3 separate regions of the Homo sapiens genome follow, and all the other regions are linked to region 1. Evidence: promoter capture Hi-C in human tissues and cell types (Jung and others, 2019). All regions are on one chromosome and are shown on one strand. Each heading gives the region's core, a stretch centred on a gene start or on the middle of the fragment in contact. The rest is flanking DNA. Distances are from core to core; before and after follow the strand shown. Region 1 holds the start of FRG2C (FSHD region gene 2 family member C). Region 2 has its middle 310 kb from the start of ZNF717. Region 3 has its middle 42 kb from the start of MIR4444-2.

What was found. The method cuts DNA at HindIII sites, captures the fragments that hold promoters and counts their contacts. A contact is called where the count stands out against the background at its distance.
Region 2: a contact is called between a fragment that was not itself captured here and the fragment with the promoter of FRG2C in region 1, in 1 of the 25 tissues and cell types used here (mesenchymal stem cells).
Region 3: a fragment that was not itself captured here is called in contact with the fragment with the promoter of FRG2C in region 1 in 5 of the 25 tissues and cell types used here (dorsolateral prefrontal cortex, liver, mesendoderm cells and 2 more).

What each region holds. Positions count from the first base shown.
Region 1 is chr3:75,662,410-75,667,267 of GRCh38, forward strand. FRG2C (FSHD region gene 2 family member C) reads left to right here and starts at 1,919. Exons shown (of 4, transcript NM_001124759.5): 1 at 1,919-2,148; 2 at 2,410-2,487; 3 at 2,717-2,794; 4 at 3,118-4,764. The coding sequence starts at 1,971. The coding sequence ends at 3,632. The HindIII fragment of the contact is 22,089 bases long and covers 1-4,858 here.
Region 2 is chr3:76,093,035-76,097,892 of GRCh38, forward strand. It overlaps a transcript of ROBO2 not described here. Among named protein-coding and RNA genes, the nearest start is that of ZNF717, 310 kb to the left of the region's middle. The HindIII fragment of the contact is 8,540 bases long and covers 1-4,858 here.
Region 3 is chr3:75,253,856-75,258,713 of GRCh38, forward strand. No RefSeq gene overlaps it. Among named protein-coding and RNA genes, the nearest start is that of MIR4444-2, 42 kb to the left of the region's middle. RefSeq lists an enhancer at 1,359-1,925. The HindIII fragment of the contact is 5,517 bases long and covers 1-4,858 here.

The DNA of each region.
Region 1 (4,858 bases), core at 669-3,168:
CCTTGGCCTCGCAAAGTGCTGGGATTACAGGCATGAGGCACCGTGCCTGGCCAGACCTGAGTTTTGCCTGAGAATTTCTCTTTCTAAGAAAGTACATCATATGGCAGTTACAAGGTCTCTTTTATCTAAAATATATAGAATTTAATAAATAAAAATTTAAAAAATTTACCTGAGATTAAAGGACAAATCAAAACACATATGTAATATGTTGTCTGTAGGAGTATATTTTAACAGTGACATAAATTATTAATAATCACTAAATGTTATAATAATTTATTAACTAAAATGAACAAAATTCCTATTATGATATCTATGAAAATACTTCCTTAGAGTAAAATATTCTCATATCTTGAGAGGGCACTGGTTAAAAACAGCAAAGATGTGGAAGTCGATGTCTTATCAAGTACTTACTATCAAGTAAGTAGCAGACCCCCTTCACACCTTTTACAGAGTTATCCAAAAAGCAGTCATTTACACAAGAGCAGACAATTTTCCTAGCTTTCTATTGAGTTTATATGTTAATATTGTTAAAAAATGTAACTCAATTTTCTTATAAAATTACCTGACCAAATTTTATATATCATATCAAAATTTATTTAGATGTCAAATAAATTTTATAATATTATAATATATAATGATATCATATTATGATAAGTTCCATTTACATTCAGACAATTTCACTAGGCAGTGTCTGTCTACCACTAATTCTTTTTTGGTTCCACTATTTGCACAGGCAGCACAGCTGGGAAAACACAGACTCACCCAACACAGTCTCTTCCCCGTGTCTTTCTCCTCCTCAAGGAATCATTTCATCAGTCAATCAAGTCATTTGGGACTGGAGGCCGAGTACTCCCTAACATAGAAAGTCTCATTCCTGCATGCTTTCCTCAGCAGAGGGGGAGAGAAGAAGGTCCTTTTAGGGGACACTTGCTTGGACGTAGCCTAGGCTAGTTGGAGGGCTCTGACCAGCAGAGACAGACTCCGCCGCAGTAGGAAGGGATGAGGCAGCTATTCTGAACCTGGAGCTCCACCACACTTTGTCCCGTCTCACTGAGGCAATTTTGAGAGGCTGCCCTGGAATATGGTGGTTGTTGAGAAATAATGTGGGCTTTGACGGGATTCAGGTGGTGTCTGCGGTGTGAAGACAGGAGCTGAATGTTTAGAATCTAGGCTGTTTTTCTTGTGATCAGCTGGGTTACCTGTTTGCGACCAAGTCCATTTTTACTAGGGAGGCTGAATAAATTCCACAGAACACAATGGCCCTCCCAGGATGACTGAGGAAGGGTGAGAAAGGGGGAAAGTTTTTCCACCTAGAATCAGGGGCTGATTAGGTTAGCACTGGCTCAACCTAATCAATGCAATTTTATTGCATTTGATCTAATTATCTTCCCCATTTTTAAGGTAGGAAGGGCCATTTCATTTGGTATTTATTTTTTCTCTGCACTTTTATTTCATCATCTATGTGTGGATCTAATAGACTCAACCATAATTTGACATTTGTTGTTTCCAAGCATTTAAGAAATTATAATATCTATGCATACAACGTTAACACTATGTATAATAAATTCTCTTTCTGTGCAAAATATATAACATATGTCAATATAGACATGTTTAATTGTGCATCTTGAAAGGTGAACAGGATCATAAATACCTCCAGGTAGGAACTGGGACAGAAATCGGAAGAAATGATTCCCTGATCTTCCGGTCCCTGTGCTCCCGGTTCTTTGTTTTCTTGACACTATGACAAGATCCTGAAAATGTCTCCCCTTAACTGTGTCTAGGTCCCCAGTAGAACTACAGCAAGAAACTTCTGATTGAGGCTCTAAGAAGCGGCAGGAATGAGAAAACTCTTCAGCCAATAAGAGTAAGCCACGCCCAGCCGAGGGACGTATAAAAGGCAGGTCTAGCAGACTAACCCACACTCTGCCTTTGGACATGTGAGAGAGCGCACCTTTCACTTGAGCTTCAACATGGGAAAGGGAAATGAAGACCCCGATCTCCACTGTTCCTCCATCCAGTGCTCCACTGACCAGCCCCCTTTCCAACAGATCTCCTTTACAGAAAAGGGCTCAGATGAGAAGAAACCATTCAAAGGAAAAGGCAAGACCGCCTTCTCCCATTCCAGTGAGAAGCACACACAAAGGCAAGGTAAGGCCTTGGGCTGCTCCTATGGAGGCTGGAAGGAGGGTTGGAATCAGGGATACTGAGCTATGTGTCTTTAGCAGGGTTTTATTTTGAGATTTGGGGATGGGAAATGGCTTAGTGCCCTTAGGGGACTTTGAGAAATGTGTTCACTCATGACACTGGCAGAAGAGCTTCACATGAAAGACTGATTCTCAAAAATGCATGAGAGATAGACTATGGGACTCTGCCTAGGGAGAGGTGAGCCATCTAAACCTTCTCTTGCAGCAGGATCAGATCCCAATCCAAACAAGGAGAATTCTGAGGAAACCAAGCTCAAGGCCGGGAACAGCACTGCTGGATCAGGTAAGATTTGACTCTTTCAAGGTGAGAAGGGACAGGGCAGCAACACAGGCTCCCCTGGCAAGGAAACTGGGAGCTCCTTGGCAGCCAGGGCAGTACAGATCCTGGACACTGGAGAACAGAAGAGAGCTGGGGTTTGGCGGTAACCTCAGCTCCTGTGTGTCCAGGATGGACTAGGAATTTCAGGGTGTTCAGTTGGAGGCACTTTCTCAAACTCTCATTGTGTTCACAGAACCAGAGTCCAGCTCATATCAGGAAAACTGCAGGAAAAGAAAAATCAGTTCCAAGGATATCTGCCAAGACAGAGCAGGTAGAATCTTGGTGTTTGTTGTTGTTGGTGGTGGTGGTGGTTTTTTTGTTTTTGGTTTGCCCCAAAAGGCAAATAATCAGGAAACTTTTATACGAGGCTTGAGCGGAAAGGGAATTACTTATTGACAAGTAAATTTTTGAGATCCTAGCACTCTGAGAATATTTGGGGACTCACAAGTGGTTCAGCCTCACTTCATTCCAGTCCTGAGATGGTCAGGAAGGAGTGGGAGAGACAAATGGGGTTCACCTGGGTGCACAGGGGGTTCTGGAAATGAGGGTCTGTGGGGACTGCTCTGGTGAGTCTCTCACATGCTTTCTTTGCAGGGAACTGTCCAGAAGAGGAGTGCAACTTGACGTTGAATAAAAAATCAAGATCCTCCACTGCTGTGCACAACAGTGAAATCCAGGAGACCTGTGATGCCCACCATAGGGGAAGTTCCAGGGCTTGCACTGGGCGCAGCAAGCGGCATAGGTCTCGGGCCCTAGAAGTCCAAACACCGTCACTTCGAAAAAGCTTGGTGACCTCTGTGCGAGCTATGTCGGAGGCTGTTTATCAAGACCTAGCCCAGGTGTGGGCACAGCAGATCCATTCTCCACTGACCTGTGAGCAGCTGACACTGCTCACTCGGCTCCGGGGGCCTCTGTGTGCCCAGGTGCAGACCTTGTATTCCATGGCCACTCAGGCAGCTTATGTCTTCCCTGCTGAGAGCTGGCTTGTCCCAGCCACACTGCCTGGTCCTGGGGATTCAGCCCTGGATAGAGAAGCCCATCCCTTCCCTGGGCAGGAGATAACTGAGCCTGTCAGTGGATCAGATGAGGCTAAGCTGGGAGCACCCTGACCCTATTCAGCAGAGATGCAGCTCTGGGAATGAGAACAAGGACCTGCTTCTTCTCAGATTCTTCCAGACGACCAGCAGTGACAATTTTAGATGCACTGTGTTAATAAATGACAGAACCTGAAGAAGTCATAGGAAAGAAACTTGAGCGGTATACTCAGAATGGTGAGCCCTGAATTTTGCAGACCGCTAAGGCTATAGACAAATTTTATATTTCATGTTAGACATTTGATACCTTTTGGATGTCTGATGACAGTCGTGCATTTCTATATAATCAGAAAAATATTAGGTTGCAATCGTGAATTTTCATATTTTAGATTGTAGAAAAGTAAATATAAAATTATATGCTCTTTTTTTTTTTGAGACAGTCTTGCTATGTCACTCAGGCTGGAGTGCAGTGGCACAATCTTAGCTCACTGCAACCTCTGCTTCCTGGGTTCAAACAATTCTCATGCCTCAGCCTCCCAAGTAGCTGGGACTACAGGCATGTACCGCCATGCCTGGCTAATGTTTTTTTCTTGTATTGTTAGTAGAGTTTTGTCACGTTGGCCAGGTTGGCCTCGGACTCAAGTGATCCACCAGCCTCCACCTCCCGACGTGGTGGGGTTACAGGCATGAGCCGCTTTACCAAGAAATTGCTTCTCTTTTAATTCGGAAAAGGTTGTAGGCTCTTCCAGCCTGAACCCATGGAGTACTAACATCCACAAACCATTAATAGCACTCCCTGTGGGAAAATGTTTATACATTTTTACAGTTTGCATAGTAAAATTACTATGCAAGCTGTTTACTTTTAATATTTCTACATAAAATTTAAGTCAAGATATATTAAATGGTAAATGATTGTACTTATTTATTCATCTGCCTCATGTTTTATTTCATTTTAAACATCCTGAATTTATATTTTATTGTATTTCATACATTTCAATTGATTGTACTGTATTGCAGGATATGGAGATTTCATCACATACTACAATACAGTGTATTTTGTTATATTTGACGTATATTCTACTTGTATTTTGTACTGAGATCATACAATCTTTCATTATCTAAGTGTATTAATGACTTGTTTGGTTGCTTTATAATTTTCATTTTATGTAATAATGAAATAAACATTAATGTTGTTTGGAATTTTAAATTTCTTTCATATGGAATTTGTATTTAATAAAGATGTGAAAAAGAGAATGTCTTATCTTCACTTCTGCATCATCCTAACCCTGACCTCCCCACAG
Region 2 (4,858 bases), core at 757-3,256, 430 kb after region 1:
TGGTTGATTATGTCTGTTTTGGGATACTTTTGAGATGTAAATTTTGGTTTCAACAAAGGAAGTTGATTTGAATTTTCTAGTCTTTATATTTGTCTTCTGGTGTAATCATCATTGTGTTTCTGTTGTCTTTATGTGAATGATACATATTTTACCCATGACAAAATTTAATACGTAAACAGTCCCTGACATTAACACCATCAGCTTGCTTCCTCATTTGTTCAATCTTGTGCTTGCCTCCCCTGTATAATGGGTGTTCTTTCTTTTCTATAACAAGTAGACATTAACATAGCATGCTAAAATAGATCATCTTTGCCACACAAGAAGAGATTTTGGCATTGTTTATTCATACAATTTTCTTTCTGTCAAAAATGCATACGGCAAATCAAATATTTACTAGCAGTCACACAGGCCTGCTTGAAAAAAATACAGTTTATAATATATTATGTGTAAGATATTATAATATAAAATATTTATACATATATATTAGGCACAATATATTCTCATATATATTATCATTTTATAGTTATATATATTTATATAAATTGCTTGGAATGATTTTTTTTCTCCAACCTCATTCTTTTTAAGAACTCAAATGGAATTTGTTTTCAGTTAAGATCCTAAAATTTACAGTTGAGCTTCATATCTAAATGGTTTCCTTATTTCAGTTAAAGAGGGATGAACCATAAATATTACTTTTTATATCTATAAATGTTTATATCAGAGAAATAAGCCACCTTATAGAAAACATGGTAGAGTCAATGATAGTGATAGTTTACAGGAAAATGTGTGGCATTTTATACTACTTCTGTGTTATCAACTTTTAGAATAAAAGTCTCTTTTATAGACTTGGTCAGCCTCATAAGTATAAGAATCTACAACAACATAGTTAGAAATATTCATAGGGTTGTCTGGTTAAGATATCAAGCATTTGAGGTTTCTAATTTTCCCTCTCAGATTTGTGAAAAAAATTAAAAGCTATGGACCAAATATGTGCCAGATCACAAAAAGAATTCCTGACAACCACAGGTACATGGAGCCCTGAGGAAGAATAGGGGAATGTGCTGGAAAGTGTATAACAATCTCGAGTGCACACTCGCACTCACACACACACACACACACACAAGCACACACAATCTAAAGAAACAAAGAAATACACCCCTCAGAAAGTCTGAAAGAATTTTTCTCAAAATAATCAATTCTGTGTGCCTGCCTTGTAGGATCGGCCCATCCAGTGACCAGATGGATGCGGCAAAGCGCTCTTAATCCTCAGAAGCAGGAAGGAGACCTGCCAGGGCAGGCAGCCCTCACTAATTTTTCTCCAGCAAATCTTCCCAACAACACAGTGCCACTAAGAGAGACATGTGTTTGAGATTTTGTTTTATTTTCAAGGATTCACAGTCAATAACGAAATACAGCTGGGCTTAGAAGAGTTGTGGGAGAAGGATGCCCTGAGACTCCATCTAGCAAGGAAAGAATTAAGTCTTCTCTGGAAGATCCACAAATAAAATGTACTGCTCTTTACAAAATGACACCATGATTCAGTTATTTTAGAATGTGCAATTATGTTATGATTGACTATAGTAACCCCATTGTTTCTTTGAAAGCAGTATCTTCACTGTGAAATGAAACCTGAAATATTCAAGGAAGGAGAATTCATTCTTCCTCTATCATCAAATAACAAAACTATGTAAATATTGTTCATTTCAAAAAGAATAAATAAGGGAGAAAGGGAAACTACAAAATCAGCCAATATGTTTACAGGATAGAATACAGCTTTCAGGTTACTGAAGGAAATTCTTCTTTTCCAAATAGAAATAAATTGTAGATGCTTTGTACTATCAACAAATTTTAGATAAGTTAGAGTTCATGAAGCAGGATAGATGAGATGGGACAACTGACTGATATGAAAAGTGACTTCTGAGTTAGGTGGCGGTAAAGCTTTTAAAGATTATATAATATAAACAATAATCTCAGCATTAATGTCAGCATCAAAAGCAATAAGAAGTAGAATTAAATTGTAGGAAAAAGCGATATGGAAGACACACTAAAAAAGCTCTCTTTTAATTTTGGGCTGAGTATGGGTGAGTATGAGACTAAGATGCAAAAGACACAGTGAGAATGAGAAGATAATATGGTGAACAGAGAGAGAAAATCCAAATATGGAACTTTGTTGCTGATATCAGAACACATGGGAGATAAGCAGTAGTGAAAGACTTAATAGAAAAAAAACCTGAAAGCTAAGGCAACTATACATTGTGAATTTAAAAGGCCCATTATGTAAGAGAAAAAATTAATGAAGTCCTGCAGAGAAACAAATAATTTTTTCCAATAATAAAGAGAAATGTGAAATCACTAAACCAAAAAGGAAAGATAATATAATAAAAGAAAAAAAATTAAATTTGTTACAAACATCTGTGCAAAACCAAATAAGACAAGCATAGGTTGGGCTGACCACTAGTTATAAATAACATTATATCAATTGATATAATGATAACTCAAATAATGAAATGTCAAAGCTCCATGGTTGTCTATATATGAAGGCAACACTAACCTATTATTAGGCATATGGGGACTTAGGGTCCACTGAATATCTAAAATTTATTGGATAACAACAAAACTCCACATAGAAAATACTGTAGTACTATCTATGGTATTGTCAATGTGTGTGTATGGCACATATATTATGAATTATATACAAGACACATAGTATGCTTGACACACACACACACACACACACACACACACACACACACAAGATAATCATCTGGTAAATATAACAAGGAAATCTAACATACAAACAAAGCAAAATTAGAAATAGAAATTGCAAAGACATAAATGTGTAAAATATATAATACTAAGCTAATACATTTGAAGATATTGATGACATTAATAATTTTCTAGAAAATAATTTACCAAACATTAAGCTGAACAAATATCAAGTCATGTACTTAAGTGAAATTTTAAAAGGTATTAAAGAATATCCTCATAAGGTATAACATAACAAAATAACCTTTATCTCTAAGGAGATAAAAAGAACCCATATTGACAGGCCTCGTAAGCAATAATCTCCTCATGTGTGCAGTGCATGTCATAGGCAGTTCTCATGTTCTGAGAATCCTGTGATTCTGGGCCATCTTCCATCACAGACCTCGAGTTTACTTGGGCCACCTTTATGATCAATTACATTTTAAGAAGAGCCTTCTGACCTACATTCTCATGCTGAATGACTCATAAATAACTTTGAGATAATAAACTAGCCAGCATCATAACTTGGGTAACAAGAATATTCAGAAGAAAAGCACTTTAAAAATAAGAGAAATTAAACTAATCTTTAAAAAAAATCTCCCCAGAAGAGGTATATTTTACGGAGAAATTGTGCTGTTAACCCAGAGGAAGATCACATTATCTTGTTTTAATTACCTCCAATTCAAAGGTAAGTAACACAGAGAAGGATTTTCAGCATGATTCAACAGTAGAATCCAATGCATTTGAGTGTTTATTTTTTTATGTATTTGTGGTTAGGTCATTTATTGATTTGTTTTAGAATTTATCTCTGAATTTCTATAGATTATGATAATTAATAATACAAATAATAACATTAAGCATTTACTGAGTATTGACAATATGCTAGGCATCATGCAAAACACTTGGTTTTACCAGTATTGTCTCATTTAATCCTTACTACAACCCAGCAAGATAGGTGTTGCTATTATCTTCATTTCATAGAAAAGTAAACTGAAACATAATCATTTATACAACAATGTAACTATGTAACCACAATATTGTAGAGACGAGTTAATGAACATCCACCATGAACAAAACAGACACATATCCTTGCCTTTGTAATGCTTATAGTCTAGTGAGAAACATGCATTGGAAAAATTAGTTATGGGCAGACGACTGACAAAACTCTCTGTCTTTGCTACATGAGAATCTGACTTTTGGCTAACTCTCTAGTTCTGTTCTCCTGGAAACCTGGTAAACATAGATTGTCTGCTACATTACTCAGCAACATTATCTATGATTAAAAAAAAGTGACCCCAGGTTGGTCAGTTGCATCTGGACTGGTGGGAAATGTAAAGAGACTATCAATATGTCGTGGGAATGCCGTATTTTGGGTTTTACTGAATGTGGTGAATCTTGTTAATGAAGCATGTACTCTGTGCCAACCCTATGTGCTGCAGCCACAGAGTTGTTAAAAGAAATCCTAGCTTCTCTGACGGCATGAGCCTATTTGTCAGGATGGCCCCAACCCGTTCCCAGTGCAGATCTCATAGCCTAGCACCTGAACTTGCTCCTGGAGAGCTACATGGTCCGTTCTTGGGACTGCAGCAGGGGCTCCTGCTGAGAAGAGCTATTGATGCTTCCGTGCTGGCCAGCTGTGGTTCATTAATATCCTTCTGCATAGATGAGTTCCTGGTGTGTCATGTGATAGTCTTAGAATTCTGAATATTTAGCTAAATCTAAGGAGACTAATGAGTATTGTGATAGGCAAGACTGTGCATGGCAGATGGTGATAAGTTTTCTGATTAGCAAAGAGAGATAGAAAATGTCAAAGAGTGGAGGTTTAGTGGTGGAAATTAAAATAAACAAAAATTAACAGGGTAATCAGGGAGGATCTCACTGAGATGGGGACATTTTAAAAAATATGTGGGAAACATGTGCAGAACGTAGGAAGCAGCGAATACACATACACAAGTCCATGCAACTGTAATCTCTGTGAGGGCTGGAACTCTGTTTTGCTTCCCCACTTTTTCTCCAGAATATATTCTAGTTCTTGATGAGTAGTAGCTTAAAAAATGAATGAATAAGAGGTCAAGTTGGGTTTAGGAATATGAAAAATGTGACATCTTTATTT
Region 3 (4,858 bases), core at 1,140-3,639, 410 kb before region 1:
TTTATTTCCAGAATTTTCTTTTGTTTCTTAGAGTTTCTATCTCTCTGCTGACATTACCCATTACTGTTTCCTTTAAGGTCCTTAAAATGTTAATCATACTTATTTTAAAAAGATAATTCCAACATCTGAATCATATCTAAGTGTTGTTCTGATGGTAGCTTTGTCTCTTCAGATTGTGTTTCTCCTCATCCTTTATCATGCCTTGTAATACTTTGTAGAAATCTACACATGCATCAGGTAACAGGAACTGAGATAAATAAGTCTTCAGTGTGAACATTTATTTTAACCTTTCTAGGGGTAGGATTGTGTTTAATATTTGCTGTAGCTGTAGGTGCCAGAGACTTCAAATTCAGCTGATGATCTTATTTTTTTCTTTGGTCTCCCCTCTTGACTTTGTGCTTCCCTAAGTATGTACTTCTTTTCAAATAGAGAGCTTTTTCAGTTGTAATCCACTGTCATTGTGTTGAAACCTGATGGTATGGTGTTAAGATGTAGGAGAGATATTGCATGATTAAAATCCTCCAATTAAATCTTAGTGGTTTTTTTTTTTTTTTTTTGAGATGAAGCTGTGTTGTTGTCTGGGGAAATACTGGAGGTTCATTGTCTCATGCCAAGGAAATCAAGGATGCAGAAACATAAAGAGTGCGCCTGAGAGTGGAAGTTTAGGCTGGACACGGTGGTTCACGCCTGTAATCCCAGCACTTTGGGAGGCCGAGGCGGGTGGATAATGAGATCAGGAGTTCAAGACCAGCCTGGCCAAGATGGTGAAACCCTGTTTGTACTGAGCGAGACTCCGTCTCAAAAAAAAAAAAAAAAAAAAAAGAACGGAAGTTTAATAGACAAAAGAAAGAAGAAAGCTTCCTTGTGCAGAGGAAGGGGACTGGAATGGGTTTCTAGCCTTGCAACAAGATGCAGCTGCTTTTACAGATGAGCTTGAGGAGGCAGTGTCTGATTTACAAAGGGCACAGAGGATTGGTTGGACCAGATGTGCCATTTACATAGCACACAAAGAGGCTGGTCATCCAACCCTGATCTTTTATTATGTAAATGGAGTTTTCTACCTGGCCTGCGCCATGCTGCCCATTTCTTTACTGCACATGTGGCGACAAAGAAAAGGGACCCCTATGTTGAATATACCTGACTTCCAGGTGTCCTTTTTCTATTGGCACAGCTGCCGGCATTCATCTGTGCAAGCTTCCACTTGCTTATCTATGCTTGCAGCTTGATTTTGCAGGCTGCTTTTTGTTAGAAAAGAAATTATTTGGGGGGTGCTTTTTATTAAAAGGGAAACCTTGCCGAGGACTCTGTTACCTTCACTATCTGCCTAAATAATTTCTTTTTAGCTCCTGTGTCAGAGATAGGGTCTTGCTCTGTCACCCAGGCTGGAGTGCAGTGATGTGATAGAACTTCTGGGTCTCCCAAGAGGCTAGGGTTACAGGCACTTCCACCACCATGCCCCACTTAAATCTCAGTGTCTATATCCTGGGGCTATGACCTTCATGATCTAGCTTTTATCCCCCTATCTCTCCCTATTCCCTTCCCTGGCTGCAGCATCCGCATTGTATTTCCTTGAAACCTTGATTGCTGTTGATTTGTTTTCCCTTCTTAGGTGAGACCAGGAGGCTAAAGGGAGCTTCAGTGGGAGGAATGCCTCTACTGTGATAAACTCTTAGCAGAGTCTTTCTTTTGGAGTGTCAGCCTTTGTTAAGGAGAAGACTGAGCTATTTCACAATGATTACTCTTCCCTTCCACCTGCCAGAGCCATGAAAAAACATCTTTTCAGATGTTTACTGTGAGAACCTGGTGGGGTTCCTAAATATAAAGCCCTTTAAAGTGTGGGAGACCCCTACCCCTAAATATCCAGCTCCTAATAGTTTCTCACTCTCACAGTAATTCATACACAACCCGCAGCAATTCATTACATTTACCATATGATGTTCCTATCAGTGTATGGCACCAGCTTCTTCTCTTCCAGGTAAGCAGATCTCAGGTGTGTCTCTCTGGATGCACCCGATGAGTCCAAGAAAAGTCATTGATTTTCAGTTGGTTCAACTGTTTCTTGTCATAGGCCAAGTATGACGTCCACGTTCTTTACATGTCAGAGCTGAACCAGACTCCTAAGCCTTTTTTTTTTTTTTTTAACTTTTTTCTTTTCTTTTTTGATGTTTAGAAGATATGGCAGTATTCCAGCACATGTTAAGAGTATCCTGGATGGGAGTATGGCAACCACTAAAGCCAGTCTCTAGTCTTTTCAATTCCACCAAGTTCTTTGAAGAATGAAATGACTTTCTCCGGCAATCACAGCCTTGCAGAAAATCTGTGCTCCTCGAGCATAAATGCTAGTTGAAGCTAACAGGGACAGAGTTGATTAATGAAGTAAAGGTACAATGCTGCTCCTGTTAATACATGCAAAGTTTACATGTTCCCAACATCAACGGGCTTTTGCCTAACTGTGATATCTTCTCTGAGCTAGTAATCTAGGTTGAGGTACTTGAGGGGTTCAGAGTATACCACCCCAAAATATACTACTCTGGCATAAGAATTGTTTTGAGCTAAAGGCAATTGAGGAAAAAACAGACACAGGACACACTCTCTGTCCTTCCTTTCTCTACTAGGAAGACTAGAACAATTCTTAATCACCTGAGACAATGCTGGACTCTTATCAGCCCAGAGATGGCACCAGAGGAACCTATATAACTTTACTAAAAGAAATTTTATCTTCTATTAGTTTCAGCCCCTATATATAGCCCACCACAAGTTATAGCCCTTGGAAGGCTAAAAGTCTTTTCTCTTATGTCTTGCCATTTTTCTACAAATTTATTATTATTTGCTAACGTACTATATATGCACAAGTTCTTTTTCTTTTTTTTTTATTTTTTTATTTTTCCTGAGACAAGGTCTTGCTCTGTCACCCAGGCTGCAATGCAGTGATGTGATCATAGTTTACTGCAGCCTCCAACTCCTGGCCCAAGGGATCCTCTAGCCTCAGCCTCCCAAGTAGCTAAGACTACAGGTGCACACCACCACACCTAGCTAATTTTGTACTTTTTGTAGAGATGTGGTCTTGCTATGCTGCCCAGTCTGGTATGCTCAAGTTTAATCACCCCTTTGAGTCACTTGTCACTGAGGTTTCTCCCAAGTGATGTGCACTGCACATATTAATAAACTCTTTGTTTTTCTCATATTAATCTGTCTTTTGTGAGTTTAGTTTACAATGAACATAAGATAGTGTCTTATTCTATTCGGGCTTTTATAACAAATTACCGTAGACCCAATATTTATTTCTCACAATCCTGGAGGCTGGAAGTCTTAGATCAGAGTGCCAGCATAGTTAGGGTCTGGTAAGAGTCCTCTTCCAGTTTGCACAGTTGGCATCTCCTTGTATCCTCACATAATGTAAAAAGAACAAGCTAGCTGTCCAGCCTGCTCTTGTAAGGGCACTAGTCCCATTCATGACAGTTCCACTCTCATGACCTAATTACTTCCCAAAGGCCACAACCTCTAAACGCCATTATATTGGGATTCAAGTTTCAATATGAATTTTGGGGGAACACAAACATTCAGTCCATTGCAGATGGGTAAAGGGAAAAGATTTTTCCTTCCCTACATACTCCATTTGTTATCTATTCTGAGGCTTGAGAATTTCCTACAAAACTGGTATGTTTAGATAGAGAAAGAGAAATTTTGCTAAATGATGCCTGTAAAGCTTAGCAGTTAGAAGTTTATATATCTAAAATCCTAATAAGCCTATGTTGGATGATACCTTATAAATCCTCCCTTCTTTCATTTTGAGGGAAGGAGCTGAGTCTTAGAGAGGTTGAGCCACATGTTCAAGAGTTTAACAAGTAATGGGGTCAGTAGAAGCCGTGTCTTTCTAACTCTAAAGATAATGGCAGCCTGTGTAAGACAGAGACTCTTAGGTTTTGTGTTGTCTCCTCTCTATGCTTCTTCCCTCTACCTCAAGACCTCTCCTACCAGAGCCTGTCTAAAGCCATGAATAGATGGAGCTTTTTCTATTGCTGCTGCAACAAATTACCACAAATTTAGTGTCAAGTAATACATATTTTATGTTATAGTTCTGGAGGTCAGAGTCCAAAATAGATTACTAGGCTAAAATGAAAGTATCTGTAGGGCTGCAGTCCTTCTGGGAGCTGTAAGGAAGAAACCATTCTGTGGCTTTTTCTAGCTTTTAGAGGTCATCCACATTCCTTGGCTCATGGCTCCCTTCCTCCATCTTCAAAACCAGCAAGGTTTGGCTGAATACTTTTGAGGCTGCCGTCTTTCCAATTCTCTTGCTTCTGTCTCCTCCTGCACTTTTGAAGAGATGACATTAGGTCCACCTTGAAAGTCTGGGATAATCTTCCTATTTTAATGTCAGCTGGGTAGCACCTTTAACTGTCGTTTGCTATACAACCTAACATATTCACTGTTTCTGGGGATTAGCTATGGACATCTTTGGGAGACCATTATTCTGCCTGCACTAGAGAGAGATAGAGAGAGAGAGAGAGAAATTCCTCTCTCAGCATATGGTTGGGGAGTTGATATATTAATGTATAAGTGAGAAATTAAAAAAAAACTGCTGGTAAATAAGACAGTATAGGACAATTAATTGATTAGATTCAGGTTATAGTCATTGGAATAGAGAGAAGGCACAGATCTAAGTGCACTGGATATATCCAAGAAAGTTACATCTATCTGGGTAATAAAGACTGCATAGCTATTGGATGAGGCAGGAAGGGACCGCAGTGAAGTGAGGAGCAGTTAGGAAAGAAGGCATCATGCGTACAGCATAGGGATGGAACCAACTCTAATGAGTTAGGTCATGTTGATAAATAGCAAGAAAACTGTGGATAGGAAG